Linked DNA regions of Homo sapiens: all the other regions are linked to region 4. The links are contacts of gene promoters, found by promoter capture Hi-C in blood cells and fetal thymus (Javierre and others, 2016). All regions are on one chromosome and are shown on one strand. Each heading gives the region's core, a stretch centred on a gene start or on the middle of the fragment in contact. The rest is flanking DNA. Distances are from core to core; before and after follow the strand shown.

What was found. Contacts are between HindIII fragments. The CHiCAGO score rates a contact against its expected background, and 5 or more counts as called.
Region 1: a contact is called between a fragment that was not itself captured here and the fragment with the promoter of TRAPPC8 in region 4, in 1 of 17 cell types (total B cells). The highest score is 7.8, in total B cells.
Region 2: a fragment that was not itself captured here is called in contact with the fragment with the promoter of TRAPPC8 in region 4 in 1 of 17 cell types (total CD4 T cells); the score reaches 5.1 in total CD4 T cells.
Region 3: a contact is called between a fragment that was not itself captured here and the fragment with the promoter of TRAPPC8 in region 4, in 4 of 17 cell types (non-activated CD4 T cells, total CD4 T cells, naive CD4 T cells and 1 more). The highest score is 6.9, in non-activated CD4 T cells.
Region 5: a contact is called between a fragment that was not itself captured here and the fragment with the promoter of TRAPPC8 in region 4, in 2 of 17 cell types (naive CD4 T cells and non-activated CD4 T cells). The highest score is 6.7, in naive CD4 T cells.
Region 6: a fragment that was not itself captured here is called in contact with the fragment with the promoter of TRAPPC8 in region 4 in 2 of 17 cell types (total B cells and naive B cells); the score reaches 5.4 in total B cells.

What each region holds. Positions count from the first base shown.
Region 1 is chr18:32,865,474-32,868,916 of GRCh38, forward strand. It overlaps LOC105372058 (a long non-coding RNA gene), which reads left to right. Exons shown (of 10, transcript XR_935361.2): 3 at 514-624. Among named protein-coding and RNA genes, the nearest start is that of KLHL14, 94 kb to the left of the region's middle. The HindIII fragment of the contact is 694 bases long and covers 1,768-2,461 here.
Region 2 is chr18:32,543,521-32,547,126 of GRCh38, forward strand. No RefSeq gene overlaps it. Among named protein-coding and RNA genes, the nearest start is that of GAREM1, 74 kb to the left of the region's middle. The HindIII fragment of the contact is 2,670 bases long and covers 569-3,238 here.
Region 3 is chr18:32,464,238-32,467,839 of GRCh38, forward strand. The region is part of intron 1 of GAREM1 (GRB2 associated regulator of MAPK1 subtype 1); the gene reads right to left. Among named protein-coding and RNA genes, the nearest start is that of GAREM1, 4.8 kb to the right of the region's middle. The HindIII fragment of the contact is 6,104 bases long and covers 1-3,602 here.
Region 4 is chr18:31,941,016-31,944,390 of GRCh38, forward strand. It overlaps TRAPPC8 (trafficking protein particle complex subunit 8), which reads right to left and starts at 2,113. Exons shown (of 29, transcript NM_014939.5): 1 at 1,593-2,113. The coding sequence starts at 1,749. RefSeq lists enhancers at 1,008-1,786, 1,888-2,097 and a silencer at 1,718-1,837. The HindIII fragment of the contact is 12,839 bases long and covers 820-3,375 here.
Region 5 is chr18:32,482,477-32,485,962 of GRCh38, forward strand. No RefSeq gene overlaps it. Among named protein-coding and RNA genes, the nearest start is that of GAREM1, 13 kb to the left of the region's middle. The HindIII fragment of the contact is 2,192 bases long and covers 532-2,723 here.
Region 6 is chr18:32,760,590-32,763,927 of GRCh38, forward strand. All of the region lies in intron 2 of KLHL14 (kelch like family member 14), which reads right to left. Among named protein-coding and RNA genes, the nearest start is that of KLHL14, 11 kb to the right of the region's middle. The HindIII fragment of the contact is 2,364 bases long and covers 146-2,509 here.

The sequences.
Region 1 (3,443 bases), core at 865-3,364, 920 kb after region 4:
TTAGTCTACATTAGTTATCTTTTTTAATTTTGAGAAAGACATTACAGATTGGTTAAGATATTTCATCTCTGATTTAGCAAATGCATCCAATAGTAATTCCTGTATAAATGTTACTTTTTTCTACTCCTCTTCTCAAGATTTATTGCTGGAATATTTTGATGAATTTTGAGTCACACAAACCAAATTTTATAGTTTAGGATACACATAACATAGTGAATCTAAGGATAGCATTAAGTTTTCTAACTATAAATGTACCCATTAACATTTATTTCATATTTTATTTTTTCTTGTGGTTAAAATCTCTGATATATAACTTCTTTTACCACTTAACACGACTAGGCAAAAATATTGACACCTCTTTATGGGGGAATTAACAAATATTACATTGATGATGCTAATGTATTTTCTCTAGTATTCAATGGGCTGTACAACTTCACATTTAATAGTTCAATAGTACAACACAACAAAAAAATCGGAGTGATAATAAGGACACTTATTTTGTCTCATATCTAGATACTCAGAGAGTGAGAGCCTTCAGATTTGGGTGAGTGATGCCATTAGAACCAAGATTTCTTCCATTCTTCTGCTCTATCATTCTCAGCACAACATGCTTTTCTCATTAAGGTAATAGTTTTTAATCTAGCCCAAATATACTGCCACCTCCCTCCAACTAGTGTAAGAAATATCTGCTGTCCCATGTCGTTTACTTCTGATTAGAATTGTACCTGGAAAGGCAGCCCTTCCAGGTACTGAAAGCTGAGGATCCCTAAAGCAAAAGTCACAAGGAAGCAGCTTACATTACGTAGAGATGGAGAGTATGGGGAGTAGAGTTGGTCTGCCAGTGTTCAGATAGTGACCCTACTTCTCATTAGCCATGCTATCTTGAGTAATTACTTCATTTCTATGTGTAAATTAAGGTAGATAATAGTGCCTTCCTTAAACACATTAAAATTATTTAAAACCATGTGTGGCCTATGAAAACTGCTCAATAATCATAAGTTTTCATGATTATTTCCCAGTTATAATAGATCTCCCAAGCTCAATATCAAATTAGCTGTTATCTGGACAACACAGACAATAGTTCAGGCCCAAGCTGTTACTTCCTTAATAATCTGGAGCTTTTAGGAATCAGGCATTTCATTTGCTTAGTTTATCTGGGTAATACAATGTACCTTGTCATTGAGTTAGTGATGAGGTTAAAGTTATGGTATAAAGATGAATAGGTATCTGGGAGATAAGTGGATTGGGGTTACACCTATAAGTGATACCTAAAGAAACCATTGGGCAGGTAAGCACTATTCAACCCTATTACCAAAGCATGGCATGTGTGGATCCTATGGACAGCTTGTACTAGGAGGAAGCTTTATAATTTGATATTTCACATGATAGCCTGATTAAATTTCTTGCATGTCCACAAACATATATATGTATATTTTAATATTCATGTACATGTAGATACAGAGACAGAAAGAGACAGCTCATAAGACAAAAGGTATTATCCTTATAGGTCTTATCAGTCAAAGATCTGGAGAAAACAACAACAGACTAAAATATTTGCACAAATACCTAGAGAGCGATGAATGCTTTTGGAGCAACCCTGGTCAAAGCAGCATGTTCTTGTTCATTTTTTTTTCTTTTTAAAGTCCTCCCCTTGCTGTTCTTGTCCCATAGGTAAAGAAGTGGAGTTGATTTTACAAATGACTATTGCTCTGATGTTTTTAAAGAGCTTCAGGAAAATAAGTGAATTCCTACTGGAGTTGACACTCAAGCTTTCTTGAGAACAAACCCTCTTGCCTACCCTTCTGATGTGGCAGCTTTTCAAGCAGTTTCCCTTCCTTATGAAAGGAAAGGATTGTGTTATTATTAGAGGAATTATCAAGCCGTCTGCACTTCTTTTCTATAAGAAAAGAGAATAGGGTGTCAATCCTGTAAATGCCACATTGTTTTTTATTTTTAAAAAAGGTTCTTTCTTTTTTTAACATTGCGATGAGATCCTGATATATACAACCCTAAAATTATTCACGTGCTGCTATTGGGAAGTCCCCCGAAACCTAGGGCAGTGTGAAAATGAGAAGAAGGTAATATATTTTTTAAAAGCAGGTGGTTGAGTGTTTTAACCACCTCTGTTCTATGATCATGGAGAAAACACCCCTTCCCCCTACCCCATATCCGCAAAGGATTCTAAGGAAACAGTTTTGAGTCTGTTCTCCTAGGACCGCAGCTATTCAGGCCCTCTTCATTCTTTTAAGGTGGATATTGACAACCTAGCAGGTCACAGAAGTGTGTTTAGTTTCACTCTGGGACAAAGAAACAGGGAAAGTCAGTCACATTTTGTGTACGTGTGTTTGTGCATGTGCACACAGTGTCATGCAACCTTATGTGTGTGTGTGTTTGTATGTGTGTGTACGTATGTATAGAGATTGGATACGAATTTGCCATGGCTTTTGTTAAACAGCAAATAAGCTTTGCCCATTTGGACATGCTATCAGAATTCTGAATTTCTGGTTAAAAATCTCTCCGCTTGAACATGTCTGCTGGAAATCACTGCCGTTGCTGTTGCCAGGGGTCATTAAATGTACAGGAGAGGAGGCGAGGCAGAGATGCTCTTCCTTGTCTTAAATGAGCATGGGTTAGTGCAGAACACTGGTGGATGAGCAAGTTATATACAATCCCAGGGACTCCGGTCCCCCTCCTGGGGACTGCGAAATTCTATGCCACTGTGAAGCAGCTTAGAAATGAGCCGACAAAGAAGTCCGTTGACTTTAACGTGAATATGCTCGAATCACACAGAAGACAAGAATAAATCACCTTACAACTGCGTCTAGTGTAATTTTCCTGTCTCCTTCCAGTTCCCCCACCCCCACCCCTTTTGTTCTTTGTGGATGTTTTTGTTATCAGCAGCATCATTGAGAAGCTGCCTTTTTGGGATTTTTCTATAGGTGACTAGGGTGTGAGCTAGGTGCTGCTGCAGTATGAATCTTTTAAAAGGCGCCTAAGAAATATTTAAGACCCTGGTCTAGGAGGAACGGCTCTCCCAGGCATAATTTTTGGTGCTGGTTGCAGCAGGGAGCGTATGCTGGGAGGAAAGTATTATTTTTCTAAATGGAAGGTGTCAGATGGTCACGCAATGTGACTGCATGTTCGAGATCACTGCCTCCCATCTGCAATTTGTGACGTGTGAAAGATTCTGCCCAAATGTGCTCACCAACTGGAAATCCTCGGCACTTTTTTTCCTTATCAGGAGAGACCAAGATAACCAATGGTTTACAGATCAGGGATCCTATCAAATTAATATCACTGTAGGATAAAATCTGTTTTAAATACAACTCCTAAACTCCAGCAAAGTTAACTAGTACAAACAAGTTCATTCATCTGATTAAGAACCGCTGCTCAGGAAACAACAACAAAATGAAATCTGCTTATCACTGTCTCTCACTTCAAAA
Region 2 (3,606 bases), core at 654-3,153, 600 kb after region 4:
CCATAAAAATGGGGATAACTACTAGTAGAATAGGTTTTGGTTATGGATGAAAAGAATATCTTGAAAACATCTGTTGTATCATAAGTGGCCAATTAATATTGGTTTTCTTGTATTATGTTGTTAGAAACAACATGGTACAACTAAAAAACATGAACTTTTGATGGAAACAGACTTGAAATTGACTCTACAATTAACGCCAGTGCGGCCTCTCCTTGCACAAGTTACATACATCTTTGAGCTTCAGTTTCCTCATTTATAAAATTATCGAATAACTGCAAAACTTAAAAGAAAAACCATATATTTATATTAAACTCATGGCTCATATCAGTATAAGTTCTTCTCTACTTGGGCTACTAGAAGTCAAATATTTTATAAAAGCAAAGTAAGCAACAATAACATTTTGAATTCTGATAACAGGAGAAACTTAGATTAAAAAGGACTAGCACTTCTTAGGTAAAGGAACACTTACCCGTAGTTCTTCAGATCTACTGTCAAGATAGATTATTTATCAAATGCAGTGATCGAGAATTAAAGGATAAGATTAGGGATCAGAAGTCCCTTTTTGATAAGCTTTCAAGAAGAAGAATCTAGGGACGGGGCTATTTTTACTCATAGATTTCAAAGTTAAAAAATGACTAGCATCTCTTCTCTTGAGTCTGTGACAGTTTCAGAGAAACCTGGCTTACAGGGACAGAAGGACATCTTTCTAACTTAAAAGTGGTTAAAGGGAGTAAAGCAGTCCCACCCTTCCTTGGTATGTGCATTGGTACTGAACATTTTCCACTTTACATAGAACTTGAGAACTTGAGACCTTATCATGAAACCATATATTTGAGGCTCTATTCTTTAAAAAAAAGAAAAGGTTACAAGAAATTATAGAGGGAGCTTGCACAGCTGGCAACTGTTAGCAAACAAACCAAACCAAGAACAGCAGGCCAACATAAATTCTCACCAGAAAATACTGGGTGTGAGTCCCTTCTGGCCAAAAAAAAAAAAATTCAGTAAATCCAAAGCAAGGGATTTGAGGGGCCGCGATTGATTTTTTTGTTGAACTCCTACAGTTTCTCACTTCAACTTTATGAATAAAATTTAAGCAATAAAGACAATCTACATTATGTTATGGATTCTTACCCTGAGGTACTGAATACTTTCAATGAATATTATATTCTGTCTCCCAGTCACAGATCAAACAGCCTATTGAAATTTACTTCCCTAGACTGTATTCCTTGTGAAAATAAAGGAATCTTTAAGTTGTTGCTCTAATGCAGAGAGAAGGGAAGGCTCAAAACTTAATGGGCTTCTCAGACTCAAGATACCCAGGCTTCAAAAGTGAGTTTAGGGGCCGGGCACGGTGGCTCATGCCTGTAATCCCAGCACTTTGGGAGGCTGAGGTGGGTGGATCACCTGAGGTCAGGAGTTCGAGACCAGCCTGAACAATGTGGTGAAACCCCATCTCTACTAAAACTAGACACAGCTCTGCCTTGTGTTACAACCTGTACTTGTGTTGGTATTTTGGGAGGGTAAAATGTTGGGTGATGATAGGCGTGCCTTCAATAAAAGTGTGACTGTTTACATGATACAACTAATCAATTCATTAAAAAAGGTTTAGAATGTGAGGAATGAAACGTTTCTTAAAGTCATACCATCCAGAGTCTGTCATTGTTAACATTTTGGTTTACTTTTCTCCAGTATCCTTTTTGGAGGCTGGAAGAGGCCATTTATTTCTCAGAATAGTCATACTAATTATGCATCTTTGAATTTGGCATTTTTCATTATCTATATTTCACCTTATTTTAAATTTTCCCCCAAACATAATTTTGATGGCTTTTTAAAAATTTGGATAAGTCCTTATTTTCTTTGTGAATCCCTTTCCTTTTGCTGTGCCTTCTTCTCTACCTTTCCATCTCTACAATCTCCAGATACGTATTTTATATGAACTGCCAAGTATAGGGAAAAAGAGAGGCTCTGAAAAAAAGGAGCTGTTTTCAATTAAATACTGAACTGTCATAAAATAAGCATCAACATTACGTTAAGTAGACCGACGAGTCTACTATTACTATCCTGTTCTAGAGCAGATAAATTTTTTTTAAATGTTGGTTTGTTAATTTCTCCTTAATAAGTAATTCATGCTCACTATAAGCAACAGTCAAATTAAATGAAATTATTATTATTTCTCTGAGACAAGGTCTTGCTCTATTGCTCAGGCTGCAGTGCAGTGAATGTGATCACAACTCACTGCAGCCTTAACCTCCCCAGGCTTGAGTGATTCTCCTACCTTAGCCTCCCTAGTAGCTGGGACTACAGGCATGCATCACCAAGCCTGGCAAAGTTTTCATATTTTTTGTAGATACAGGGTTTCCCCATGTTGCCCAGGCCGGTGTCAAACTCTTGGACTGAACTGATCACCTGCCTTCGCTTCCCAAAGTGCTGCTCTCTCATATAGGGAATAAAAGCTCCTTTCTCCTAAATTTTACTCCTTAGGGGTAAAATTTACTCTGCATAGCCTTCCAGACTTTTAATAATGCATATCAAACACATACGTAAGCACTCTGTTTTTAAATAATGTGAGATTATTCTAGATACAGTAGATACACTGCAGAACACTGTATCTTCTAGATATTCTAGAACACTGTTCTACAGTGTATCTAGAATAATGTTTTTACTTTCTGTGTCATAGCCTTCTTTCCACTGAGTTAATACAGTTCTCCATCTGGTCTTTTGACAAATATATAATACTTCATTGTAGAAAGGAGCCCTAATTTAACCATCTCTAATTGATGGACATTGAGTTATCTATTTCTTTGTTATATTAAATAGTGCTGCAATTAATATCCTCATGGATGTATTCTTGATTTCTTAAAGAAACGCTCCAAAAGTAGAATGGCTTGGTCAAAATGGCTTGGATACTTTTGTTTTGTTGGAAGATGGCAGATCACTGTCTTGAAAGGTTCTTTCATCTCACCAACAATGGATGAGAATGTCTATTTCCCTACACATGTTCTTTTCAAAAGATGACAATTACGGAGTCTGATGAAAATACTCTCAAGATACAATTTCCTATTATGTGATATAGCTCTACATTTCTCCCTCTTCTCTGTTGCACACCAAATGAAAAGACGTTTTGGAGAAAGGCAGGAGGGAAGGAGAGGTAAGAACGAACAGAGGAGAGAGGTGGAGACAAAGAGTCTGATGGCCTTCTGCCTGGCTTGCCATGTGGCTTGCAAGTACATAAATTAGAAGCTTGAGGGCAGCTGGGGGAGGCTGAACCATCTTGACTTCTGGATGGCTTTGGAACTACAGCATTGCTTCTTTGGAGGGGCCCAGCTGAGGTCAGCACAGGTGTCAGTTCAAAGATGGTCACAGAAGTAACATTTCAGCTATCTGGGTCTTAAAGGCCTGCTTTTAACATGATTGGGGTGGTGAACGGGTGAGGGACTGATACCTACTGCTCTGTTTTTTTTTTTTTTTTGAGATGGAGTCTCGCTCTGTCGCCCAAGCTGGAGTGCAGTGGCACAATCTCGGCTCACTGCAAGCTCCGCCTCCTGGGTTCAGGCCATTCTCCTGCCTCAGCCTCCTGAGTAGCTGGGACTACAGGTGCCTGCCACC
Region 3 (3,602 bases), core at 165-2,664, 520 kb after region 4:
CCAAGATTGAGCCACTGCACTCCAGCCTGGGCGACACAAAAAGAAAAAAAAAAGATGTAAGTGTCTAAGCTCACTGTTTCGGTACCATTTGGTAAAACTCACCTGTGATTCTGGATTAAATTAAAAGTTCCTGGCCAGATGTGGTGGCTCAGGCCTACATAGTCTCAGGTACCTGAGAGGCTGAGGCCAGAGGATCATCTGAGCCCAGGAGTCTGAGGGCAACCTCAGCAACAAAACGAGAACCCATCTCTTTTTTTAAAAAAGTAAAGTTCCTTTCCAAACTCCTCCAGTCCCTCCGAAGCCCAATCTTGGTTAGATTAGTCAGTTTATAACACTTTCTGTCTGATAAAGACCTTTCGCCACCTTTCTATAACCTGCGGATTACCAGATCAATAACCTGGAATACTCAAAACGAAACACACTCAAGTCACCCAGAGCATTTCTCTCAGCTTCTTCTTCTGTACAAAGACAATAAAACCTGCTGCTACCTAAATGATATGCTATACTCTGAAGCCTCCCTCAACTGATCCGTATCTACTACAGCCATCTCACACATGTATTTGACATATATTATTGCATTTAATTCCTATAATAAGTAGAATGTAAGCACCACAAAGACATACAGTTTTGTCTGATTTGTTCAGTGCTATAGTCCCAACACCTGTAACAGGGCTTGTCACATAGCAGGGGCTTAGTTAAGTGTTAGTTGACTGAATAAACAATTTACTGAATGAAGAATAGGGGCAAGTATAACGTCTAGTTTTCCTACACGGGAAAACTACAAATCAAAGGGATTACAAGACCTGACCAAGATCACATGACTATGAAATGGCAGTACCTCTAACAGAACGAAGGTCTCTTGGCTCCAAATCCAGTATTCTTTAAATTATCATTCCCCCCACCCTGGCCATGTGTACTCTCTTAAAATACAGAATGCCAGGAGAAATGAAGCCACAAGATGAACACCGAACATCTTCCAAGAGCAAAACTAAGTTACTTTGGGAAAAAGAAAAGAAAAGAAAAAGAAAAAGACATCAATTACAAAGTAGATTTTGAGAACTTACTTCAATTTCAATGATAAAACATGGATCCGAGAAAGACCTCTGATGTTTACAAACAGCCACTTGGAGCCTCCCTGGGGCCTAAGTGTCCATGTTTTTGCTCCTAGAGGCCAGTAAATGATAAAGCTGCAGAAGCCTCTGAGCACAAAGTAAGGACCAAATTTCCCACAGTCCCAACACATCCGGGACTTAGAATCTGATCTGATTCCTATGCACAGCCAGGAAGGAGAGACGGTCACTGCTCCTGTTCTACCTACTTAGCAGTCTCCTACTCTTTTTCTTCCCTCTCCCTGCCTTTCCATGCAGCCTTGGTCTTCCTTTTCCTTTCAGCAAACAGGGCCATTAACACATCTTTTATTGTGCTAGACCAGCATTCTTTAAACTGGGGTACATGTTTGGGGCAAAGCTAACACTTCCCAAGGGTCTCATCATCACAACTGTAAAGGAATCAGTTTCTACATTTGAAATTTCCAAACGTACTCTTGTTTAAAAATTAATGGGCTTGGGTCCACGCTTGCGTTGGACATCCATCCTGTGATGACCTTCACTGTGATGGAAGGAACCTGTCGTTCACCATCTCCCCTTCACAATGGTTCTTCACTCACTTTACAAAAGTAATGCACTTGTATTACCTTCTCTACATCTTTCTAAGATGCATTGCCTGAGGGTGAAAAGACCTTGGGTAGAGAAACAAACAAAGGAACAAAAATATTGATTCGTGTTGCAGGGTTAAAGTCTCCACTATTTAGGTAACAACTATTTCTGTTAAGTCAGGTAATTTCCAATTCTTTGTTTTAAAAACAACCAGAAATCATTAAATATTGAAAGTCTTATGATCAAAATAAATACGAAATACTAGATTTCAATCTATATACTTTTTTTTTTGGTTACAGAGAGTATGGCAGAGTGATCAATAGAATACTTTCAAGCATAAAAATATATTACACTGAGACAGAATTCTATACAGCGGAAGAGAAATGGAGTAAGAATTTAAAGAGATAAAGAAAAGGTGTAAAATGTTTAACTTTCAAAAGATTGATTCTTGAATCTCATGAATTTTTAAACAAATGATATTAGAAATCAAATATATATTTTACTAGAGTTTTTAGAATGATGTAATACTTTAAAATATGAATAGTTACAATATGCTGAGAAATTACATCCCCTGCAAGCATTTAAACTTAGAATGAAAAGTTTTAGCATTTAACTGAAAAATGTGCTTAGGGACAGAGTTTCACCAAATCTTTTAGGAGGCATAGAAGCAAAAAGGTTGTAAGAATGCTACTCTAACACAAGCCTTCAGGGTCTATCCAAGATGAAATGAGGAGGAGAGAGAAAATGAACAATTTCCCACCCATCCAGTTTTGAGTGAGGATGGTTGGGGGTGGAGGATTAGTATTTTCTCCATCCTCTCCTTGGTCCTAAGCACATTTGCTGAACCCAGTTCTAAAGTCAACAGTTTATAAGACTGATGATCAATCAGTTTAAATATCTGATCTTAATTGCACTGCTGACTGGGCTTAGACCTCAGCTGATGAGATACATCTCATCAAATCTCCCAAGGAGAATTGCTAGAGTACCTTTCTCTGGGTTCTCCAGAAAAACTTGTGGGGCAACATTTATAAAGGCTCAATTATTTTGTATTTATCTTATCATACAAAGGCAAATTTCACCATCAAGGATGTAATATTGAACACATCTATCTACCTGGCACTTCAGGAGTGGCATGTATAATGCAAAGAATTGGAGAGTTCTTTATATATTGTGTAGTGAATATTCATTCTAAGGATGGCAAATGTCCTGAAGAGTCATCTCAACAGACACATCTACGTTACTAGGCCCTCAAACCCCAATGTTTTTTTTCTCCTGTTCTGTAACCTCTTCTTCCCCACTGCCTCTTGCCTCTTTTCAGCCACTCCTTTGGCAAGCAGAAAGTTGTATGTATGATGGATGAGGCCAGCACTTAATTTGGTGTCTACACTGTTTTTAAAATATTGACTTTCCAGTCCTCAAGCTCTCAGAGAGACAGTGAACCTATTTAGAGCAGATGTCAGAACAACTTCAACCCTTCTCTCCTTTAGTACCAGGAGGTAGCCCAGTTTGAGATAAGAGGTCAGTCTTCAGAGTCAGAAGGTTGGCTGGAAATTCCACTCCACCATTTACTAGGTACGAGTCTTCAGGCAAGTCAATTTTTCTGAATCTTAGGTTCCTGAAGTTCTTAAAAATTGTGTTGCTGAGGATTTGAGACAATACATATTATGCATCTAGAAATGTACCAGCCCATAGTAGGCTTCTGATAATCAATAGTTGTGAAATTAGATTTTTTAATGTTCTTTAAAAATTATTTAAAATTAGCCAATCATTTCCTCTTGGCATAATGTCAACTAGTGGCATGTTTTTCAATTTTGTTCTAGTCTCTTTAAAAACAAGTGATTTGAAAAATGACTATCTTTCATGTCTAAGTATAGGGTGGGCGTGTGCAGATGTAAAATGTACCTGCAGTACTAAAACTGGGGAAAAGGCAAACACAGGATGAGGACA
Region 4 (3,375 bases), core at 863-3,362:
CAGGATTCAATGAGGACTAAAAAAGAAAAGTTACACAAAGCAAGTATCAGGTATTAGCATTATTATTATTTATTAAGAAAGAAGGAAAGAGTACACATATAAAAGTAAAACTAGCTCAAGTGTTTGTGTTTTTTTAGGAATTCAAGGCCGGGCGCGGTGGCTCACGCCCATAATCCCCGCACTTTGCGAGGCCGAGGCGGGCAGATCACCTGAGGTCGGGAGTTCGAGACCAACCTGACCAACATGGAGAAACCCTGTCTCTACTAAAAATACAAAAATTATCCGAGTATGGTGGCGCATGCCTGTAATCTCAGTTACTCAGAAGGCTGAGGCAGGAGAATCGCTTGAACCTGGGAGGCGGAGGTGGCGGTGGGCTGAGATCGCGCCACTGCACTCCAGTCTGGGCAACAAGAGCGAAACTCCATCTCAAAATAAATAAATAAATAAATAACAAAAAAATAAAAAACGTAGGGCATTTTGTTGCTCTTAAGTCCAACACTGAAGGAACTGAGACTGATGGCTACGATACAGGCTAAAGAAAATCCAAAAGTTTCCAAACTTTGTTTTTTTGGACAGCTCCCTCTCTCCGCTAAAAACAAAAGCTAATTTATAATGGAACTATTCTCCCAAAAAACATGGTAGCGCAAAAATGGTACAGCACTGATTTTTTTTGTGGATAAGTCATATTAAGCTAACAAACATCACAGTCGTTTGCCTGACACAGGCTTATTATGAAACCCTTCAGTTCTTACCGACCTTAACAAAAAAAACTTTACTTGGACTTTGTTGTTTGCAAGATATTGGCTAAAACATGCTTGAAGCTTTACCACATTATTTTCTCCTAATAAAAAAATCCAAAACTGGAGAAAACGGGTAGCTTCTTAACAAGACATTCATTAACAAGAGAAGACATTTCCATCCCTATAACTATAGATAACTCCAAATATCCAGGTTAAATTAACCACAACTTGGGCTTGCTTCCTCTTCCTTAGGGCAAAAAGCTGCTTCAAGTTTTATTCTTCTTATAATACTTTTAATTTTCTTGAGAGGTTAAGCAAAATACCGTATAGCTAAGAATATATTAGTAAAACAGCTACACGGTAGTTCAGACAGAGATGACCCTCAACGCTACAAGAATGTAATAACATCCACAACTACTTTCAAAGTCCAGTTTAACATCCAAGGGAGGATGACAGGTCTTCCTTACTCAGACCCTGTCGGTCTAAGAGGCAGCATTTTCCTACCTTAGCTGCTTTGCAAGTGCCTAATTCCTTCGCTATGGCCGTGGAGAACAGTCTCAATGCCGTTCTCGAAGACTCACGTTTATCTTTGCACCAATTACTTAACGACCTAGGTTGTCCGAGGAAGAAAGGAAGTGCCCAGAGAAACTGGAGCTTAGGACTGCGCTGTCTTGACAACCTCACGGTCCCTCCTCCAGCCGCCCCCGGAGCACCGCGGGGCCACAGCCCCAGACGCCACGGTACCGGCTCCAGGACGTAAACACTGCCCTTCTCTTCCCTGCCCGCCCGCAACTTCCTTCTCCCGACCACGGCTTTGCGGGAGCCCACTGGAAAAGGGAGGATACCACATACCCTCGGAAGTGAGGCGGGAGAAGGGCTTAAGCAGCTCCGCGAAGCTGAGGTGATTGAGACGAGTGAGCCGCTCGGCTTCGTCGCTGCACAGCGCAGCGACACAGGGGACGAAGGAGTCCGGGATTAGCTCCTGCACTGATTGTACACACTGGGCCATCGCCGCAGCACAGGCAGCGGCGGCGCCCGCCCTCCGGCCCACCCTGCGAGGTTATCCTGCGGCTGCAGCAGCTACCGCCGCCGCCCGCCGGCCTGGCCCGGCCGGGCGGGGCCCCGAACGCACTGGAGCCTAGAAACAAGAAGGAACAGACGCCGCCGCTTCGGTTTCTGGGGCACAATCCACTGACCCCCCCCTTCCCGTCACCGCCGCTTCTCAGCGCTCGTCCCCGCGTGCTCGCATTCCACCCCGATAGGTGGAGACGCCGACAGTCACCACTTAGTCCTTCGGACGGCAAAACCTTGGTCACTGCCCGGCCGGAACCGCCATGTTGAGGCCGAACCCTGACCAACCGGCAGTACTACTCCCAGCTGCCCCCGCGCGCGTCCCTCACGTGACTGTGTTAAAGGAGACGGTAGGGGCAAGGGAAGAGAGCTGAGGAGAGGGAAGTGAAAAACGACGGAGGCCGGTTGGGAGGCTGGAGCCGGAAGTGTTGTGACGGAAGCTCCCTGGGCGGGGCGGGGCTACAAGTGCGGTGGGCGGGGGCGGGGGCGGGGGCGGGGGCGGGGGGAGGTGCACAACTGTAGGCCGGGTTCTCAAGCTCGCCCTTAGCAGAGCAGAGCTGAGAGCCACCTACTAGCGGCAGGTGGAGCCTCGAGACGGGTGCTGTCGTGGTGATGGAGGCGCACGCTCGCTTCCCACGCAGTTTGGCCTTTTTGACGTCCCTGGCTGTTGTGGGCAACCGATTTGGTTGGTCGCGCTGCTTCCTACGCTCGCCGGCGGAGCAGCTAGTGGCACCTGCTCGGAGAGAGGGAGTGGATCTCTCGGAAGTGCTTGGGGTTTCGCTGAAGCGGACCTGAACAGACCATGTGTCCTTTAAATACAGCCATGCTTTTAGAAACGGACTGTCACTTTATGTGGACTCAACCATTGAACAGAATGTGTGCTTTTGTGAGTGCTGCAATTCCTTCAAGTGTAATTGCGCTACTGCATTTTTGTTGGTCGCAGGGAAGGGGTGTGCCTGCAAATGTCCGCGTGGTTCGTCCTCAGCCTCTTCCTTTTTACACTGTGCTAGGATGTTTACTTGCTTGTGGTGGAGGTAGGGGAAGCCAGTATTTGTGTACTGTGTACTGTCCTGAACCGGCTTTCATTCCTAACTTTTCAAAGATTGCTTTAAAGGGGGGGGGGCGCGGGTCAAATATTGTTTTAAAGGGGGGGACGGGGTGAGGTCAATGGTGTGTGCCTTGTAAGTAGAAATGAATGAAAGGAATTTTACTAATGTGTCACTCAATTGTTTGAGCTCCTTCTGTTTTGCATGCCAAAAATATAAGGCAAGGAAAAATGTATCATTCTATCATGATTTTATGGTGCTCTAATTAAAGGTGTCTTCCCCAACGTCAATGTCTCAAATTTTTCGACTTCTTGACACCCTCAGGTTTTCACTAAGGTAATAATTTATGACAAGTAAGATGTGTGCTTCTCATGTAAGTTGATAAATGGGAGGTAGGAAGGCACAGTAGGACATATTGATGACATGCCTTGGCTACAGATTAATTTATAAGAGAGTCCATCACTTTAGGAGATTTATTTGCCGAAGTTAAGTACGAGCCCAGGAAACAGGTCTATGCC
Region 5 (3,486 bases), core at 378-2,877, 540 kb after region 4:
AATCACTGCGTAGATCATAGAAAGACATTATTACCAAGTTTTATTCCAAGAAGTATAAATTATCACTATTCCTAGACAATTTAAATATTGGTGCCATGTGTCTTTCCAAGGTCTCGTCAATTTCATTTAGTCTAGATTATATGATTCATACCTGTCTATAAAGAAAGGTAATGAATTTTTCAATTGCTTCTCATTTTATTTGGGGTTGATCTTTTAATACACTGATACTCTACTGGAAGGAGGGAATGAAACTCTCCAGAGGAATGCATGTTCAATATTACAATATTTTACGTTTCCAGTAGTGAGGGAAGGTATTAATTTCAAAATTATTTGAAGATCTAGAAAGTTGCTCCTAAAATTTTATTTTAATATAGAATCCTCTGATATTATTTGTACTTATAAATAACAATTACTCAAGATATTGAGGGAGTCAAAGATTTCCTATTTATGTCCTGTTATTCTGCCCAGAAAACATCAGTAGGTCAGACCAAATCAGGAAGTGGAAGGCAGATGACAAGAGTACTTATTTAAAGCTTATTTCATGTAAAAATGAAAAAATCCTGATGAAATCCATTTGGTGCATTTGGTGCTTTCAGAATTTTGTAAAGTGTTGTCACTGGGTTTGTGCAATGTCGAAAGGCAAATCCCACATCTGGAGGAAAGATGGCAGTAATTTAATAAAGCATTTGGCCTTTTCATATTAGCTATAATTCCATCTAGAGTTAATAAGGTTTTTTTTAATTAGTAAATCTCTTTGATGTCAAGATATGCATTGACGTAGTTAATTTACTTTTATTTGAAGTAGGCACTCTTGGGTCTCATTGACGTACATGTGAGATTTAGTGCCTTTGGTTTTTCAGGGAGCCCCCTCAGTAAGCAGTTTATATCACCTTTTCTCAGGATTAAAAAAACACTTAGAAGAGTGCAGTTGGCTAAGTGGGACTTTCTGCTTTCTTTACATTATATGGTCAAGGTATAAAATGAAACAATGACAAGGGAAATAGGGTTACTATCTTCTGGGATGAATTCGCATCAGACTCCCTGAGAAGTAAAGATGAGAATGTCCTATTATACTTTTCTGACTAAAGCAATAGAGAAGTTTAAAAGACAGGATAAGAGCTGAGAGAGAGAAAACCTGAAAATGGGGAAAATGGAAAAGGAAAGTCAAGGTGGTGCAAAAGAAGTGGAGAGCTGTGGGGTGCCTGAGGCAAAAACCGAGCTATAGACAAGGGGAAGAACTGTGTTGCTGGGGGTTATCAGAACAGTAAAGGATATGCAGAAAACTTCAATCCAAAATGAGGGAGTTAGGCTTGTGAGAGGAGGGAGGGAAGGGGGAGGGAAATCATAAGATAAAATCTAACTTGTGGCAGTAAGTTTTATTTTCTTGAAAGTGGGTACAGGAATGTAAAATTTTCTTATGCCCTGAGAAATCCATTATTGATGTTTGAGACCCCCAGCCAAATGTATTTTAGTCATCTGTAACGTACACCAGTGGGAACATTGCTTCATACATATGTAGATGCTAATTTAAGCCAACACGTATTCCATTTTAATTACTCGAGTACAAACATCTCACATTTTCCCTTTGGTATAAAATGGAAACTTTTATTGGTTGGTCCAGCAACAGGGGCTACAATATATACAATATGAAGAAAGATTGAGTTGACATTCCATTATGAAACTTTAAGTGTCTACAAGATTACTGTAAAAGTCATCTTAAAAATTATGAGTTATGAATATGTTAGTTGTTTGGGGAGAACAAATTTTTGGTTTGGTTGTACATTTCCTCTATTTTCTATTTTATTAATTTCCAATAATTTATTTACCTTTCACTCTCTTCAGGTTTACTCTATTGTCTTTTAACTTCTGAGCTGAATTTTTAACTAGTTTATTTTCAACCCCTTTTATTCTTTTTTTTAAAAAATAAATGTATCTATAGGCTCCAAATTTCCTTCTAAGAACCACTTTGGCTCCATCCTATATGTTTTGATATATCAAAATATTTTGATGTAACCAAAATAATTTGTAAATTCTATTATGAGTCCCTCTTTGATGAGTTATGAGGGATGTATTAAAACATAAACATCTTGATTTTTTTCCAATTATAGTTGACCCTTGAACAATGTGGAGGTTAGGGGGACTGACCCTCCGTGTAGTTGAAAATTCATATGTAATTTTTGACTCCCCCAAAACTTAACTACGAATAGCCTACTCTTGACCAGAATCCTTACCAATAACATAAACGATCAATTAATACATATTTTCTTTGTTATGTATATTATATACTATATTCTTACCATAATGTAAGCTAGAGGAAAGAAAATGTTATTAAGAAAATCATAAGGAAGGTATATTTACTATTCATTAAGTGGAAGTGGATCATCATAAAAGCCTTTGTCCTCATCATCTTCACATTGAGTAGGCTGAGAAGGAGGAGGAAGAAAGGGGGTTGGTCTTGTTGTCTCGGGGGTGGGAGAGGTAGAAGAAAATCTCAGCATAAGTGGACCCACACAATTCAAATCCATGTTGTTCCAGGGACAACTGTATTGATTTCTAACTGTTGCTTTGTAGTCAAGAAATGTATTAAGTAGATAATTCTTCAAAATTTACTGGACTTCTTTTGTGACTCATTTGTGATCAATTTGCATAAATGTTTTATGTATACTTTAAAGTGTATATTTTCTCTTTGTTCACTGCAGGTTTTTATACTCACCCATTGTACAAGCTTATTAATTTTACTGTTGAAATGTTCTCTATCCTTCTCACTTGTAAAATTGTGTTTGCTTGACATGTTTGTTTCTGATAGAGATTTGTTAAAATTGCCTACTATGATTTGGATTTGTCAGTTTCAACTTGTAACTGCCTTGTTTTTTTCATTTTGGTTTGTCATTGGGTTCATAAAAGTTTATGATTGTCATATCTTTTTGATGTCTTGTTCCTTCTATTCTTTTGTTACCCATCTTTATCTATATTTGCCTTGCATGTTGATATGCTACATCAGCCTTCTTTTGGGTGATGTTTGCCTAATATATATTTCCCTTTTTTTTTTTTACATATTTCTGTGCCATTATGTTTTAGGAATGACTCCTAAAACAATGTGTAGCTGGATTTTCAAAAAATACAATCTAGTCTGAGAAACAGGAGCACTTATTGTGGAAGAATGCCAGGTCTACTTAAGCCATTCCAATTTATCTATTGCCTTAATCTCCTTTGTCTGTTTTTTATAAAATTTCTTAGTGAGAAATACAAGATGCCTCTGTATAACAGTTTTGAGCAAACAGAAATTTAAGTTTACAGAGTAGCACATCAAGATGCCCAACACAAGCAATAAATCCAAGACTTAATTTGGTTTCCTTGTGTGCCTGCAGAAATTAGGATAGAAATGATTCTGCAGGTGTACTACAAGAACAATTTAATAAATTCTACTTCGCTTTCTATTATTTTTCCCTTAGGTTTTCATAGAAAGCAAATCTTGGGAAGGAATTC
Region 6 (3,338 bases), core at 78-2,577, 820 kb after region 4:
CATACGGTGGCCCAGCTGAGCTCTGAGGAAGTTCAGAGTCCCCGCGCAGGTGCAATTTACCAACCCCTCACAGGCGCTCTGGGAGCAAAGAAGCCAGACATATGCATGTGAAAGGCTTTGGGAGCAGCAGAAAAGAAAGCCTCTAAGCTTAAGTTTATGAGATTAAAAAGAAGAGGAACTCTCTTCTATGAAAGGAAAAAATGAAAGACATTTATAACTCAACCGGCCATCATTTTCCTTTTGAAGAATGAAATATAAATTGCTGAGAGCTGTCGAAAATTCTAATGTTCCCACTTCCTTCTGATGCCCTTGGTTTCACCTTTGGTTCCCTCCAACTTCATTCCTCTGGTGTTAACAGTCTCTGACTATTTCTGTGCTATCAGTGATATCATGAATATGTCCTAGTGATTTTTTGATAGGCAAAAGTGCATTCAGGTAAATTTTGCTAAATATGTCTTTTAAAATTAATAATATACAAACTTAAAACAGCATTTTATGTTTAGTTTTTCTACAATCTCAGCTGATCTTTCTACAAATGCTGCTAAGTATTTAGAACTATAATTATTAACCCATTTTACTGCTGCAGGACTCGGCTAACGTGGAGCCAGGCCACTCATTTAGGTTTATGATTTCAAAGGCAGCAGTGTTTCCACAATAGTATTACTTCTTTTTTCAGTTCAACTGAAAAACATGCTGATTTTTCCATTTTAAAATGTATCTATGCAGTAAATAATCCTTAGCAGGGCCTACAACTTCCTGTATGATTTGGACAACCCCTCTTGCCACAAATGTAGCCACACATCCTTTTTTTTTTTTTTTTTTTAAGTTCCTGGAAGGTGCCAAGCTCTTTTCTGCCCAGGAGTTTTGCAGGTGGTCTTCTCTCAGCTTTGCCTCTCCAATTGCATATTTTGCCTTCTCCCCAGGCCTATTACTTAGAATGGCTCATCTTTCAAGGCTCATCTTATACCTTTGTTGCAGAGAAAGTCTTCTCCAGTCACTCGGATAAGGTTACAGCTGTCTGTTATAGGGTGTCCCAGCCCATGCCACTTTTCTCTTGTAGGTTATGTATTGCCAGTGTGATTATTTTGTGTTACTATTTACTCTTTCTCTTTTTACTGTAAATTGCATGCAGTCAGAAATGTGGCTGTCTTGTTCAACTCTGTATCTCAGAACTTAGCTCAGAGCTTGATGTACCATATACGTTCAATACAAATGTGGGGGTTATTCCATAGCACAACTTCTGATTAGTAGTAAATTGCAATGCATCACTCCAAGTTTCCACTATCAGTGTGACACAGTCATGGGCCTGCATTTAGAAAGCTGTCAGAGGTCCTGAAGTTCTCCTTGCTTCTCAGGTCTTTTGCCAGGTCAAATTACATGGGAATTAAGATGATTTTGCAATGAATGCAGTTATATGTTTATCTCCTTATATTCACAGAATGGGTTGTCCCCTTTGAACTCCGAGACTTCTGAAACTACTGCATTACCTAGCACAACAATGGATTTAAAAAAAAAACAACAAAAAATCTTATTAACTCAGATTACATATACATAGTTATTGAACCGAATGGTATTATAGGCGGTAAGGTACCATGATTGACATTTTTTTCTTGTGAAAATATTTTCTTTCTTTTGAGGACTGACTTTTTTTTTCTTTTTAATGAAATTCTGTCTATAACTCTAAATTATATAAGGTTGGGTATGCCATGATTTAAGTGTTTCTTGATTTGTTCTTATCTTGATTTGTAAATGTTGAACACCTAATTTCCAGTCTTTAGAAATTTCTTGCCCATCTTCTTTTTCTTCCTTTTTCAGATAGTTCACATTCTTAATAACTTGTTTGATACCCCTTATTTCCTTGCATTTTTCTTACTTCTTGTTTTTTCTTCTTTTTCTCATTACCCTATAATTTATTTTCTCTTTTTACGGTAGGCATTCCATAATACCTTTCTGCTTTACTTCTAGTGTTGCAAATAGTTCTAATCCTATTTGCATTAATATTATTTGTGAAGAGATAAACCTCTCTGCTATTTACAGTAAAATGAACACACTCATTGTATCATCTGTACTACAACAGATAGCCTTTCTCTGGTTAAGTGATCCTCCTACCCATATCAAAATAGTGTTTTTTTGTTTTAATTTAAAGAAATCATCATTAGTAATGCCTGTATTGTGAATTATCTTGGAAATCAATGGAAAGGACATGGAAAATGAACATGTTTTCTGAATTCTAAGTGAATGAGAGAAGACAAACATTTATGATCTAACAATTGTTAAATTGATTTTCTTGAAACAAAATATAAACAGAATAAATTTTCAGTTAGAGAGGTCTTATTTTGTTATTAAAATATACAGGTATTTTTATAATTCCAACTTCTACCTGGTTATTTAATCACCTGAAAGTATCCCCAACATGAATAGTGTTTTACTGTCACAAAAACAAATCTGACACCCCTTTAGTACTTCAGTGCACAGAAATCCAGGGAAACCAACTTTTGGTTCAAATTCAAGCTTCAAGGTTTTTTTTTTTTTTTCATAGTTAAACAGAAATTTCTTATTTTTCTTTCTTTTCTTTATTTAAAGTGCATTGGCTCATTCTATTTTTAGTAAGTCAATATTATAGTGCCAAATCTCAGCAACTTATTATTTAGCCCCTTAATTCAGAACTAATAATTAAGTGCTGTAGACCAGAAGGATAGAATTCTGGCTTTCTAATGTCTTCCCCTCGTTCTTCATTGGTTGAGTGGCCTGAAGAAGAGTTAGATGGCAGGAACTTTTAATGACTTTTGTGGTGTGATAAAACAGAAGTGGAAGGTGTAGATAAGAGTTTGTCTTTTGTAAATGCCACATCTCCAATATATACTCATAATGGCAGGGTTATTTCCCTGGTGATAAGGACCTCTGACTCAACACTATTCAGATAATTGGGTAAATTACTTATCTTCTCTGAGTCCCAGTTTTCTCATCTTTAAAAAGGCTTAAAGGGTGCTGTAAAGATTAGAAACACTGTAAGTGATAAGTCAAGCTTGTGGTAGTTGCTCAGACAGTGATAGCTACTATTATTATTGGCCAACAACAGGTTGTGTGTATGTTTGCGTGTGTGTAATCATCTTTAAAATTACCTATATTTTTATTGCACATTAGCTTTTTTGATTCACACTATACTGCACCAACCTTAAGTGTCTATCTCAATTATATTTAAGACCAATAGCAATTTACAACGAACTCACATTTTTGGATCAAGGTCAGGCACTGAGTTAAGTGCTTTGGTTACACATATTCAGAGAAGTCACCGTCTATTGGGGTCTGAGACAGACACATAAGACAAACCTACAATG